Regions from separate parts of the Homo sapiens genome. Here region 2 is linked to region 1. The links are contacts of gene promoters, found by promoter capture Hi-C in human tissues and cell types (Jung and others, 2019). All regions are on one chromosome and are shown on one strand. The core of a region is centred on a gene start or on the middle of the fragment in contact, and the rest is flanking DNA. Distances in the headings are between cores, read along the strand shown. Region 1 holds the start of RGS7BP (regulator of G protein signaling 7 binding protein). Region 2 overlaps RNF180 (ring finger protein 180).

What was found. Contacts are between HindIII fragments. The study calls those that stand out against the background at their distance.
Region 2: a fragment that was not itself captured here is called in contact with the fragment with the promoter of RGS7BP in region 1 in 3 of the 25 tissues and cell types used here (H1 embryonic stem cells, dorsolateral prefrontal cortex and spleen).

Annotation. Positions count from the first base shown.
Region 1 is chr5:64,503,095-64,510,308 of GRCh38, forward strand. It overlaps RGS7BP (regulator of G protein signaling 7 binding protein), which reads left to right and starts at 2,921. Exons shown (of 6, transcript NM_001029875.3): 1 at 2,921-3,695; 2 at 4,617-4,783. The coding sequence starts at 3,531. The HindIII fragment of the contact is 10,674 bases long and covers 1-7,214 here.
Region 2 is chr5:64,239,056-64,246,269 of GRCh38, forward strand. All of the region lies in intron 5 of RNF180 (ring finger protein 180), which reads left to right. Among named protein-coding and RNA genes, the nearest start is that of RNF180, 77 kb to the left of the region's middle. The HindIII fragment of the contact is 4,276 bases long and covers 2,615-6,890 here.

The DNA of each region.
Region 1 (7,214 bases), core at 1,671-4,170:
GCATCCTCACCCCTCACAAAACCCCAGGCACCTGATGTGTTTTTCTGCTTCTCTCTTTACACGCGTTAAGTAGAAAGAAAATTGGGGCTGGGCACAGAGCCTCATGCCTGCAATCCCAGCACTTTGGGAGGCTGAGGCAGGCAGATCACCTGAGGTCAGGAGTTTGAGACCAGCCTGGCCAACATTGTGAAACCTTGTCTCTACTAAAAATACAAAAGTTAGCCGGGTGTGGTGGCACGTGCCTGTGGTCCACTCAGCTCAGGTTGTAGGAAGGGGTTCCTACAACCTCCTTCTCAGATTTGGTAATTCACTAGAATGACACAGCACTCAGGAAAGAGCTTTTCTTACTATTACCAGTCTATTCTAAAGAATACAACTCAGGAGCGGCCAACTCAGGCATGTCTGTGGAACTACTCAGAAGTCTGCACTACAGCCTGGGAAACAGAGTGAGACTCCGTAGAATGAACGAATGAACAAAAGAATGAAAGAAAGAGAGAGAGAAGGAAGAGAGAGAGGAAGGAAGGAAGGAAAAAAGGAAGGAAGGAAGGAAGGAAGGAAGGAAGGAAGGAGGGAAGGAAGGAAGGAAAAAAAGGAGGGAGGGAGGAAGGGAGGGGAGGTAATTGAGATTGCAGGAAAGAGAAAGGGTCAGGGAGCTGACTAAGCACTAACCTGTTATCTTCTTATATTTGGGGAGATTCAACCAGCAGAAGAGCCCTTTCTCTCAGTCTCTGGGACATCTAAACACCTGGAGGATAGCAGCACACCAAGGTCTGGGCCTGAGAGCTGATGCCTCCTTTCTCTAGTCTTTGATAGGGAAAACTCACTCTCAAGCTTGTGTGAAGTTCTGGTCAGGCGCAGTGGCTCACACCTGTAATCCCAGCACTTTGGCAGGTGAAGGTGTGTGGATTACTTGAGCTCAGGAGTTCAAGACCAGCCTGGGCAACATGGCAAAACTCTGTCTTTACAAAATATTAGGTGGCATGTGCCTGTAGTCTCAACTACTTGGGAGGCTGAAGTGGGAGGATCACCTGAGCCCAGGAAGTTGAGGCTGAAGTGAGCTCTCATGGTGTCACTAAATTCCAATCTGGGTGACGGAGCAAGACCCTGACTCAGAAAAAAAAAAAATGTAGCCAAATATCCACTCAGTGATCCATCTGTTAGGTTTTTTTTCCTTCCCACCCAAATACATGATGTCTTTTCCAATAGCACTTCTCCAACTCTCTAACACCAATTAGGTGGCCTACAACTCATTTCTGGCACTAACTACCCAGAGTTAACGTCAGATTTACAGGTTTAAGGGCTCAGTCCCACAAGACTGCCCTCATCTCAGAGGCCAGTCACAAGTATGGGATCCACAGGTTACCAACTCTTCTCTCCATCTTGGCGACAAATTCAGGGGTTCCTATAACCACCTTCTCAGATTTGGTAATTCACTAGAATGACTCACAGCACTCAGGAAAGAGCTTTACTTACTATTAGCAGTCTATTCTAAAGGATACAACTGAGGAGCAGCCAACTGGAAGAGAAACATAGGGCAAGGTATGGGAAAAGGACATGGAACTTCCATGCTCTTTCCTGGTGTACCACCCTTCCAGCACCTAGATGTCTTCCACAACCCAGAAGCTCCCCACACTCTATTGTTGTTTAGGAGTTTTACAGAGGTTTCTTTATGTAGGCATGATTGATTAAATAATTGGCCATTGGTGAGGAACGCAGTCACTAGCTCCTCTCCTATCCCCTGAGATTGGGGGATGAGGCTGAAAGTTGCAAGCAACTAATCAAGGCTTGGTCTTTCTGGTGACAAGATGGCTTATCATAATAACTCAGGCAATTTCTAAGGGTTTTAGGAGTTCTGCCCTAGGGACTGGGGACAAAGACCAAATAACTCTCTTATTATAGTACCCCATTATATTTACTTGTCTTGTAGAAAAGGTTGTAAAGCCACCCTCCTTAGGATATTAACCTTCCTGGCTATTTCAGGCTTTCTCTTTCTATGTACTCTCCATATCCCTTTAACAGACTGACCAGGAACCTCTAATCTGTTCTTATTAGGATTACTAATACATAACTAGTTTTCCTATGGGAGACCCCTTTATCTCCCTCTCCAAACAAATCATTCAGGAGAACAAGCATCCTTAGAGCCTTAGAGTTGAATGCCACAACACTCTCTCTTCCTCCCAGAAGAACCTTAGGAAGATGTCAGTGGGAAGGGTGAACTTAAATGGCTGAGGGCCTCACCCCCACTCCTTTCACACAAGAATCATCCCCGATTTTCTGGGCCACCTCTGTTGGCCTCTGGGTTACTGATATCCCATAAGTGAGAAGAAGGTCATTTTGAGTGTCCAGGGAGATCTCTTGGCTCTTATTTGTTCAAGTCTCCGGAAGGGAACTCTAGGAGCTGAGTCCTGAGACCCTGCAATGCAAGACCAAGAGCTTTACTACTTGAAATGGGATGGGGATGAGGCCCAATCTGAGTGAATGCCTCTGTGCATTCTGCCTCACTGGCTCTCCTCTTTCCCCCTCCATGAACAAGGACAAAATAAAAACAAAACAACTCAGGGAAACAAAGCTCTCCTTTTAGGTTATCAAGAGGTCTTCCATTTGGAGCAAAACCTCACTCCCTCCTGTGGCCCCTGTCTCAGTCTCAGTTGGTGAGGGCCTCAAGCCCACACTGGCTTATTTGAAATCCATGTTTAGGTCCCAGCATGTGGCATGTGCTCCACTCTGATGACACTTTTCGTTTCTAATAATAGAGCAGATGAAGTAATATTGCAATTGATGTTCCCGGGGATTTGATTGGATAAGTGCATAAACTGTGGAGGGGGAAGGGGGTTGCATGGACAGATCACATTAGTATTCCCGTCCTATCAATGTGCGGGCCCGCGAACAACGTCAGCCGGACCGATTCTCTGCGTCTGCCAGTCCCGCCACAGATTCATCTGGGATCTTCAAACAGACAAGCCCTTAGAGACGAGGGATCAAGGCAGCCGATTAGAGCCAATTGCTTGCTTTGGGGACGGCCAGTCCTTCCAGGCCTGGCGACAGTGGAGGGAGGGGAAAGACGAACCGAGTGCCGCTGCGGGAAGACACTGAAGCAAGAGCGACACCCCTTTCCGCCCCCCACCTTGCAGCGCAGGCTTTGAAAGCTGCTCCCCCACCTGAATGGAAACTCGGAACCGCCGGGCGGCGCGTTCCTTCTCGCCCAGCCTTGCAATCCATGCCGAGAGGAAGGCAGTGCGAGCCCGCGCCAGCGCCCAGCTCCCGGGACAGGGTCGGCAATGCTGCTGAGCAGAACTTGATCGCGCTCCTTCCTCGCTGCTAGTGGAAGCGATGCTGCACGGCACAGCTAGCGCTTCCCCGGCTCTCCTTCAAGCTGAAGGTTACCGACCCGCGCAGCCAGCCCCAGCACTGTGAGCTGCGCGCCTCAGGTCCGGGCTCCGGCTGCTTGGCGGCGGCGCCCAGGGCAACAACCGGGCCGCCCGCGCCGGGGCGCACTGCACCAGCGGCTTCGGCTTGGTGGATGTGTATGCATGAGTTCTGCACCGAATGGGCGCAAAAAGCGCCCCAGCCGGTCCACCCGCTCCTCGATCTTCCAGATCAGCAAGCCCCCGCTGCAGAGCGGAGATTGGGAGCGCAGGGGCAGCGGCTCCGAGAGCGCCCACAAAACCCAACGAGCCCTGGACGACTGCAAGATGGTGGGTGAAAACTGCGCCTCTTTTTTTTTTTTTTTAATTGAGAGGGGGTGGGGGGAGTCATGTATGTTAATCATTTGCCTGAGTGCCAGCCACTCCCCCACCCTCAGCTCCTCAATGCCGATCACGTGGCACATGCACTATTTTTAAATCTGCAGTCCCCCAAATTCAGGGTGACACCCTGGTCGTAATAACCCTGCAGAAAGAAGTGTGACAGCAAGGGTCTTGGGGATCAGCGGCTGTAGGTTGTGCCTGTACCCCCTCGAAGAATGGTGGATGCGAAAGACACAGTGAACTGGCTCGCTCACGGAGGAGGGAGGGATGAGGAGGTGGGGATGCTGCTTTCTGGGGACAGAGTAGCAAACAAACCCAAATACAGCGCACGGGGCGCTGCGGAGGGGTCGAAGGTTCCAGCGCAGAGGCTGTAGCTGGTCTTCCCGTCAGGCCGTCAGGCCGAGAGGTTCAGTGGCCCAGCAAAAGGTGAATGGTTTGCCTATTACACCCTACCTGTCGCCTCCCCCGCCCCTCCCGCCGTGCAACTTAAAAGCCATGTCCTAGCAGTAGGAGAGGGGACCGTCTATGTAGGAGTCCCCAGCATCATTCTCTGTTGGCCTGGGAGTGGCATGGTAGCGCTCCAAATATGCTCTCTTGCTCTTCAGAAACTGAGTCTGAAAGGGTGAGGGGAAGTAGGTCTGGAAATAGAGCTTCCATGGCCAGGCTTGCCTATGGAAATAAATACTTGCCTTGGACAAAGAGACTTGCCATTTTGGTGCCTTCTGCTTTAAACAATTCCTAGGTTCCTTAGCTGGAGATCTGGGGAGCTGACTCAGGGGTCAGTGAAAGCCCCTGTTTATGTACTCCGAAACAGGAAACTTTCTGATGAGAAATGTTTGGTAAAAAAAAAAAAACTCACTTCTTTTCCAGCTTGTCCAAGAGTTCAACACACAAGTGGCCCTGTACCGAGAGCTGGTCATTTCTATTGGGGATGTCTCGGTCAGCTGCCCCTCACTCCGGGCGGAAATGCACAAGACAAGAACCAAAGGCTGTGAAATGGCCCGTCAGGCACACCAAAAATTGGCTGCCATCTCAGGGTAGGAGACTCGGCATTATTTGGTAATCCATATACATGATGCATGGATGCTGACAGAATTTTATGGTAGTCAAGTCCTCAGACATGATCTCCACATATTTGAGATTTTAACCTTAAGATCGAAATTCTCTAGAGAGCTATACACAAACTATAGGCCAAACCATAATTTGAAGGCTGTGTCATTCTTGCATATATGTATATATATTTAGAAGATTTGGATCAAATGATTTTTTAAAAACTTAATTTTCAATACTCTGGCCACATTCTGGAATTTGGAGCATAAGATTTGGGGTGGATGGCTGGACATCAAACTGAAGTTAAATCATCTTGCCTCAAAATTATTTTGTCATCTGCTGCTGAACAAAAGGCCTGTGCTGTAGAGAAAAACTCTTTCCCAAATCCCAGATTTACTAAACTATTTATACCATGAGATAAATTCCTATGATACCGCCTAAAATAAAATCCCTAAAATAAGGTCTTAGATATAAATTACTCTCTTCACTGTGGTGATAGGAAGGGGTAAGTTTTAGCATAAGAACAGTTTTTAAAGATTGGGGAAATTCACATATCTCAATAAACCTAACATGATTTTGTCCCCCAAATTTTTATTTATTTTCATCAGATTTATCGTTTTTCTAGCCTGTATTAGGAGATAATTCAGTATGTGAAAACTTCTCTCTTGGGACCCTACCTACACTTTCTTTCATCTCTTAATATTGGGGAAAAAGTTAGCCATGGATTTTGTTAACAGTTCCTATTTTCAAGATAAGTACTTAGAGCAAGGAAACACAGGAATCCTTATACAAATACATCAATACATTAATTTAAGTGCTTTGTTCAGTCTGGATATAGTATTTACCTGTTTATCTATGTGAGTATAGCTTTATCGCAGCAGAAGTTCAAATTAGACTCACCTGATAATGTTACAAGCTGATCACTTGTAGGAAGTATATCTAATTTACCTATTTGAAAGAATCACTGTTTGCCATCTTTAATTCCAATAATATGTATAGTGATTATAAAGTTTATAAAGATTGGAAAGCCATATACTGCCTCTGTTAATAATTACTTTACATTTGACCACAGGCATTTTATATCATGAAAAATGATATGCTGTACTCATCTCCTTGAAGAGAGGGATAAACAAAATATGTTATAACCATATTTTATTTAGTAAAAATATTGAGAAGCCTTATCCTTTTCTGTTTTAACTCTTATACTATTCTTAACAAGAAGTAAATCCGGGAAATGGAGGGGAATTAAGTGGTTCAGGAGTTTGGTGAAGAAATACAGCTGTGATAAATCTCAGACAAGGAGAGAGACAGAAAAAAAAAATCAGAAATGTGAAGGAGCACTGGTAAATTTAGAAGTACAGATAAACAGTAATTCAAAAGGAAAAGCAGATTTAGGACAGGAAATTTTCTCTCAAGGCTAAGGAGTAGCAACTCTGTAAACTTTGTGTCCTAGATTATAGGATGGGATTGCATTTAGGATCCCTCTGAGTTGGAACTCAAAATGAGAACATGTTCTAATCAGAGATGGTGGGCTGGAGGAATGAACAAGGAGTTCGATTCAGTCTATTTTGCGACACACACAAAATTCAGGGTCTTCTGAAGGTTCAGGAAAGAAAAGGTCTGAAACTATTGACTAAAAGTTGAGTTTGGAGGATTTCAGGTGGATTTTTTTTTTCTTTGAGAGGTATTATAGCTATGTTACCCCGGCTGGTCTTAAACTTCTGCACTCAAGTAATCCTCCCGCCTCAGGCTCCAGAGTAGCTGGGACTACAAGAATGCACCATGGTACCTGGCTTGAGGTGGATTTTATTTACTCTGGTGTTTTTAGCTCTTTGCTACTTGTTTGCATGTTATCTGTGTGTTGATGTTAATGGGGGCAGTTTTATAAGAATTAGTGGGAAAATAAGATGTTCTTAGAGCCTTGCCAAAGGAAAACCAACTCCATAAAATATTCTAGGATAGAACTTGACACATTTCCCCCCTTACAATAATAATTAAATGCAATTTAACATTCGTTATAAAAAATGACAGCAATATAATTGAAGGAAATCCCTTTAGTTCCTCACCATCTGGGCTCCGTTAATGAAGGATGTGATTCCCTTTGGCGGAATTCCGTTTCTGATATCATTTGTTATGTGGGTTCTTGTTTCAAGCTTGATGTGAAGGCTGGTAGGGAGGCTGTAGGAGTCACTTTAAAGTTTGAAGCAGGAGTGAGAAAAGCAAAGGTTTTTGGCGAAATTTAGAGAGAAGAACTGGATTTCTTGCGCGCCCACTATTTGTCATCACAACCCAGCTATTTCCTTTCAGCTGAGGGAGGGATTATTATTCTTATTCTACAAATAGGTCTAGAGAGATTGAGGAACTTGCCCAAAGTCACACAGCTAAGAAGTGACACAGCTTTGATTCAGCCCCATGTTT
Region 2 (7,214 bases), core at 3,503-6,002, 260 kb before region 1:
TGCTTTTGGAAAATTTATCATTTCTTCTTCTAGTTAAATATAATTTTTAAGGAAAGTATTTGAGTATTATTTTGACCCATGTATATGGTTCTCCCAGCAGCACCTTAGATGTAGGTACTTTATAAATAGTATACTTCAGGGCTTGCTACTCAAGGTGGGATTCATAGATAAGTGGCATTGGCATCACCTGAAAACTTGTTAGAAACATACGTACCTACTGAATTATAATCTGCATGTTAATACATTCCCCAGGTGACTCATATGCTCTTTAATGTTTGAGAATCATTGCTTTCAGCTGTTTTGTTCTCAGCTTATTTCAGCTTTATAGACAGCTTACTTTGCTCCTAGTAGTAATTGCTTTTGCTGCACGTTACATTTTCCTGTCTGCTAGTAGATAATGCACTTTTTTGGAAGAGCTTGCTTTTTAAAATGTGTCTGGTTTGAAACAAGAATGGAGTAGTCTATTTCAAAAGACAATTGTCTTTTGAAATAACGTTTCTCAGTTGAGTTAAGAGCTGTTGTATTGATTATGGCATTTTAGAGGTAGCTGAATTATTAATTTGGCTTCATTTGGCAGATAGAACAGTTTAAAATCAGCGATTTTATGAAACATGGTGTTTTATGTCATGAGTCTGTTATCATTGTCTTAAATATATGCTAGTGCTAATAAATATATCTCCTTGGATATAAATAACGATCATCTTAAAAAATAAACATTACCTTCATCTGAAAATGGTTACTTTGCAAATTCATTGTTTCAGGGGAACAGATCTGTACCTTAAATGACAAATGTCATAAAAGTTCTACTTGGCATTACAATTGTTTGCTAAATATAACAAAATGTATTTTTATGTTACCTTTCCAAATCTTTAATTAAATGTCTAATGTACTGCTCACCTATATACAGGTATTCCTCACTATTTAAACTCAGGAACCAAATGGGTTTGAACATATTTTCAGAAATACACATTTGCCCTATGTATTCTTGCTCTTCACTCTCTGAACTCATTAACTGAGGAACCAAATAGATTTGAATAGGAAGGGTTCCCCATGTCCTTCTTCTGCACAAACCATCAGCATAATAGATATCCATAGACTATAATATATAACAGCATTTCATTGTTTGCTTTTCTCAAAATCTTAACAAAATGTTCTCATAGTATATTAAATATAGAAATGCCCTATTAACCATATCTTCTTTTTGAAGACTCAAAATGCAGATCAGTATAATAAAGGCTGCAGTAGGTCCTCTATGAATTAAATCTGATAAAATTTGCTTTATCCAGCATTTTTCACACAACTATATGACAAGGATTAGCAGGCCATATGCCTAAATGAGGAGGACATAATATATTTATAATAGAGTCTATGAAAGCCTTACCTAATATGAACCTCAGATTCCTTAAAATCATTACTAAACTTTGTTATTGCAGTTAAACATGCTAACATGTGTACCTGATATGCAGTCATTGGTTTTAGCTTCACAGTGGAAATTGGGTGACAGAGTTACTTCAGCACTTTTAACCATGATGATTCCCTAAAAGTGTGGTTTTACAATATCCTGTGATATGCCCTCTCAGGTGGCATCACTGATTACTTACCCCCTCATTCACTCTCCTATACCTATAATCGTCTTCTCACCATCTTCCTAGCATACCAAACACTTACTGTTTCTTCTGCCTGGAAGGCTCTGCCCTGAGGTATCCACATAAGTCCCTTACCTCATTCACATCTCTACTCAAATGTCACTTCCTTAGAAAGACCCTTATTAGACTACCCTTTCTGAAGTAGTGACCTACCTACCTTACATCTACATTCTTAATTTCTCTACTTAGTGTGGTTTTTCTTCATAGTACTTATTGCCACCTAATACATATTTTAATCTTTTTCTACCCTACTGGACTATAAATCTCACAAGAAAAAGGTGTTTTGGGTTGTATTTACTACTGTACAAATAATAATTCAATGTTATTGAATGAATGACATTTTATTAAGTATATATAAATGAGATTCATATGTTGGTCTCTCCCAGTTGTATTTTTAACATTAGATACATGATTTGGAACTATGCAAATATAATACAAATACAATAGTGGAAGACATTGTTAGTTCACTAACTTAGCACCTATTTCCAGCCTCCTTCTTTGCCTGCCTTTACTGTAGAAGACCCCTTCCCAAAAAACAAAGACACAAATTCTAAATATTTTACTCATTTTGCCAGTCTCCTTGTAGCTAGGATTGACTGTGTGTCATTATTCAGATCAGTGAGAAATAAGCAGACATCTGCTGGGGTCTTCTGGGAAAGCTTTCTCTTATGTACAAAAGGGACAGATGTGGCTGATCCAGACACCTTTTCTTTCTGTCTTAAACAAGAACCCATTGCCTAAACCTGTGGAAGCCAGTCTTGCAGCCTACAAGTTCAGACATTTTAGTACATAAGGAAATGAACCCCAATTTATTTGAGCTGCATATGATAACTTATTCTATTTATTGCATTTGACAGCTTTCTTAACTAATACAAAAGTCTTTGGGAGGAGGGTATGCTCAGTATTTGGCACACAGTAGATGAGTCTTATACATCAATTTGAACAACTATCTGTGTACTAAAATATCTTCATAAGAGCTAAGGAAACCAGGTGAAAAGCTGTAGTACTTGGTTGTAGCACAATAATAATATTAATTTTAAAAAGACTCATTGAAGAGGGTAGGAAGGACAGTTTTTCATTACCCACATTACTCCTCCGCAAACCCTAGGCAGCACAACACAGAGAGAGATACTGTTTTCCTGGGGGAAAAAGAGGGAAGTGAGCACAAGACTTTGCCATGGATGCTAACACCAGGCCCACCACAGCATTCAGCAGAACCCCACAGCCCCATGTTCCAGGCTGGTACTCACTGACAGATCCTCTAAAACCACCCTCAAGCTTACATGGTTGACTTAGTCTCTAGTCCTCCCACCCTCCTGCACTGGACTGATTCCACTGGCCTCAGGTTCCAGAAAGCCCTCAGTGGCAGGCAGCTCTCAGAGGCCCCAGCCTTCTGACACAATCCAGTGCTATGCTGTTTACATCTGTCCTGGGTTTCAGCCCTACCCTACTGCCATGTCTGCCATATTGGGCTCTGGGCTTCTGTCAGCCCTACACTGATCGTGGCTGCTTCTGGCACCCCAGCACCACCTACATCTGCCACAGAGCTTTCCCAGACAAAGCCAGTCTGTGAAGACTGGAATAAGTAACTCCTACTTCAGCTGTGCAGAGATCAGTGCATGAGAACAGAGATCAAGAACAATCAGAGAAATGTAATATAACCAGATGGACAACATAAGGTGTCAGTGACCCTAATTAAATGCATGTATGAAGTGCCTGACAACTCAAAATCACTGTTTTTAAGAAGCTCACTGAACCTCAGAAAATACAGAGAAACAATTAAAAAAACTGAAGGAAACTGTAAGTGACCAGGACGAGAAATGTAATAAGGTGAAGTAATAATACTATAATCAAAACAGATATTTTGGAGCTGAAAAGTTTTGGGCATCATCAAAAGAACAAATCTTCAAGTTATAGGAGTTCAAGAATGAGAAGAGAAAGATAAAGGGAAAGAAAGCTTATCTAAAGAAACCTTTCAACCTGGAAAAAGATGTAAATAATACAGGTAAAGGAAAGACAAAGATCTCGAATCAGATTCAATCCAAGTAAGACTGCCTCAAGACATATAATAATCACATTATTGGGATCCCAGATTGAAGATGGCCGAATAGGAACAGCTCCGGTCTGCAGCTCCCAATAAGATGAACACAGAAGGTGGGTGATTTCTGCATTTCCAACTGAGTTACCCAGTTCATCTCACTGGAACTGGTTAGAGAGTGGGTGCAGCCCACAGAGGGTGAGCCAAAGCAGGGTGGGGCATCACCTCACCTGAGAAGCACAAAGGGTCAGGGAAGTCCCTCCCCTAGCCAAGGGAAGCGTGAGGGACTGTGACTTGAGGAACAGTGCACTCTGGCCCAGATACTACACTTTTCCCACAGTCTTTGCAACCTGTTGACCAGGAGATTCCCTCAGGTGCCTACACCAACAGAGCCCTGGGTTTCAAGCACAAAACTGGGTGGCCATTTGAGCAGACATTGAGCTACCTGCAGGAGATTTTTTTTCATACCACAGTGGCACCTGGAATGCCAGTGAGACAGAACCGTTCACTCCCCTGGAAAGGGGGCTGAAGTCAGGGAGCCAAGTGGTCTAGCTCAGTGGATCCCACCCCCATGGAGCCAGCTAAGATTCACTGGCTCAAAATTATTGCTGCCAGCACAGCAGTCTGAAGTTGACCTGGGACTCTCAAGCTTGGTCAGGGGAGGGGTGTCTGCCATAACTGAGGCTTGAGTAGGCGGTTTTCCCCTCATAATGTAAACAAAGACGCCTGGAAGTTTGAACTGGGTGGGGCTCACTGCAGCTCAGCAAAGCTGCTGTAGCCAGACTGCCTCTCTAGATTCCTTCTCACTGGACAGGGCATCTCTGAAAGAAAGGCAGCAGCCCCAGTCATGGGCTTATAGATACTTCTATACTCCCATCACCCTAGGACAGAGCAGCTGGGGGAAGGGGTGGCTGTGGGCACAGCTTCAGCAGACTGAAACGTTCCTGCCTGCCAGCTCTGAAGAGAGCAGCGGATCTCCCATCACAGTGCTCAAGCTCTGCTAAGGGACAGACTGCCTCCTCAAGTGGGTCCCTGACCCCCGAGTCTCCTGACTGGGACACACCTCCCAGCAGGGTGGACAGACACCTCATACAGGACAGTTCTGGCTAGCATCTGGTGGGTGCCCCTCTGGGACAAAGCTTCCAGAGAAAGGAACAGGCAGCAATCTTTGCTGTTCTGCAGTCTTTGCCAGTGATACCCAGGCAAACAGGGTCTGTAGTGGACCTCCAGCAAACTCCAGCAGACCTGCAGCAGAGGGGCCTGACTGTTAGAAGGAAAACTAACAAGCAGACAGGAACAGCATCAACATCAACAAAAAGGACGTTCACGTAGAAACCCCATCCAAAGGTCACCAACATCAAAACCGAAGGTAGATAAATCCACGAAGATGAGGAAAAAACAGGACAAAAAGGCTGAAAATTCCAAAAACCAGAATGCCTCTTCTCCTCCAAAGGATCACAACTCCTTACCAGCAAGGGAACAAAACTGGATGGAGAATGAGTTTGATGAATTGACAGAAGTAGGCTTCAGAAGGTGGGTAATAACAAACTCTTCCAAGCTAAAGGAGCATATTCTAACCCAACGCAAGGAAGCTAAGAACCTTGAAAAAAAGAGAAATTGCTAACTAGAATAACAAGTTTGGAGAGGAACATAAATGACCTGATGGAGCTGAAAAAAAACAGCATGAAAAGTTTGTGAAGCATACACAAGTATCAATAGCCAAATCAATCAAGTCGAAGAAAGGATATCAGAGATTGAAGGTCAACTTAATGAAATAAGGTATGAAGACAACATTAGAGAAAAAAGAATGAAAAGGAACAAACAAAAGACTCCAAGAAATGGGACTATGTGAAAAGACCAAACCTACATTTGATTGGTGTACCTGAAAGTGACGGGGAGAATGGAACCAAGTTGAAAAACACTCTTCAAGATATTATCCAGGAGAACTTCCCCAACCTAGCAAGACAGGCCAACATTCAAATTCAGGAAATACAGAGAGCACCACAAAGATATTCCTCAAGAAGAGCAACCCCAAGACACATAATCCTCAGATTCACCAAGGTTGAAATGAAGGAAAAAACGTTAAGGGCAGCCAGAGAGAAAGGTCGGGTTACCCACAAAGGGAAGCCCATGAGACTAACAGTGGATTTCTCTGCAGAAAGCCTACAAGCCAGAAGAGAGTGAGGGCAAATATTCAACATTCTTAAAGAAAAGAATTTTCAACACAGAATTTCATATTCAGCCAAACTAAGCTTCATAAGCAAAGGAGAAATAAAATCCTTTACAGACAAGAAAATTCTGAGAGATTTTGTCACCACCAGGCCTGCCTTACAAGTGCTCCTGAAGGAAGCACTAAATATCGAATGGAAAAACTGGTACCAGCCGCTGCAAAAACATACCAAATTGTAAAGGCCATCAACACTATGAAGAAACTGCAACAACTAATGACACTGTGAAGAAACCACATCAACTAACAGGCAAAATAACCAGCTAGCATAATAACGACAGGATCAAATTCACACATAACAATATTAACCTTAAATATAAATGGGCTAAATGCCCTAATTAAAAGACACAGACTGGCAAATTGGATAAAGAGTCTAGACCCATCAGTGTGCTGTATTCAGGAGACCAATCTCACATGCAAAGACACACATAAGCTCAAAACAAAGCAATGGAGGAATATTTAACAAGCACATGGAAAGCAAAAAAAGCAGGGGTTGCAATCCTAGTCTCTGATAAAACAGACTTTAAACCAACAGAGATCAAAAAAGACAAAGAAGGGCATTACATAATTGTAAAGGATTAATGCAACAAGAAGAGCTAACTATCCTAAATATATATGCACCCAATATGGGAGCACCAAGATTCATAAAGCAAGTTCTTAGAGACCTACAAAGAGACTTAGACTCCCACACAATACTAGAGGGAGACTTTAACACCCCACTATCAATATTACACAGATCAACGAGACAGAAAATTTACAAGGATATTCAGGACTTGAACCCAGCTCTGGACCAAGTGGATCTAATAGACATCTACAGAACTTTCCACCCCAGATCAACAGAATATACATTCTTCTAAACACCACATAGCACTTATTCTAAAATCGACCACATAATTGGAAGTAAAACACTCCTCACCAAATGCAAAATAATGGAAATCATAACGAACAGTCTCTCAGATGACAGTGCAATCAAATTAGAACTCAAGAAACTCACTCAAAACCACACAACTACATGGCAACTGAACATCCTGTTCCTGAATGACTACTGGGTAAATAACAAAATTAAGGCAGAAATAAGAAAGTTTTTTGAAACCAATGAGAAAAAAGACACAATGTCAACATACCGGAATTTCTGGGATGCAGCTAAAGCAGTGTTTAAAGGGAAATTTATAGCACTAAATGTCCACAGGAGAAAGTGGGAAAGATCTAAAATCGACACCCTAACATCACAATTAAAAGTACTAGAGAAACGAGCAAAGAAATTCAAAAGCTAGCAGAAGACGAGTAATAACTAAGATTAGAG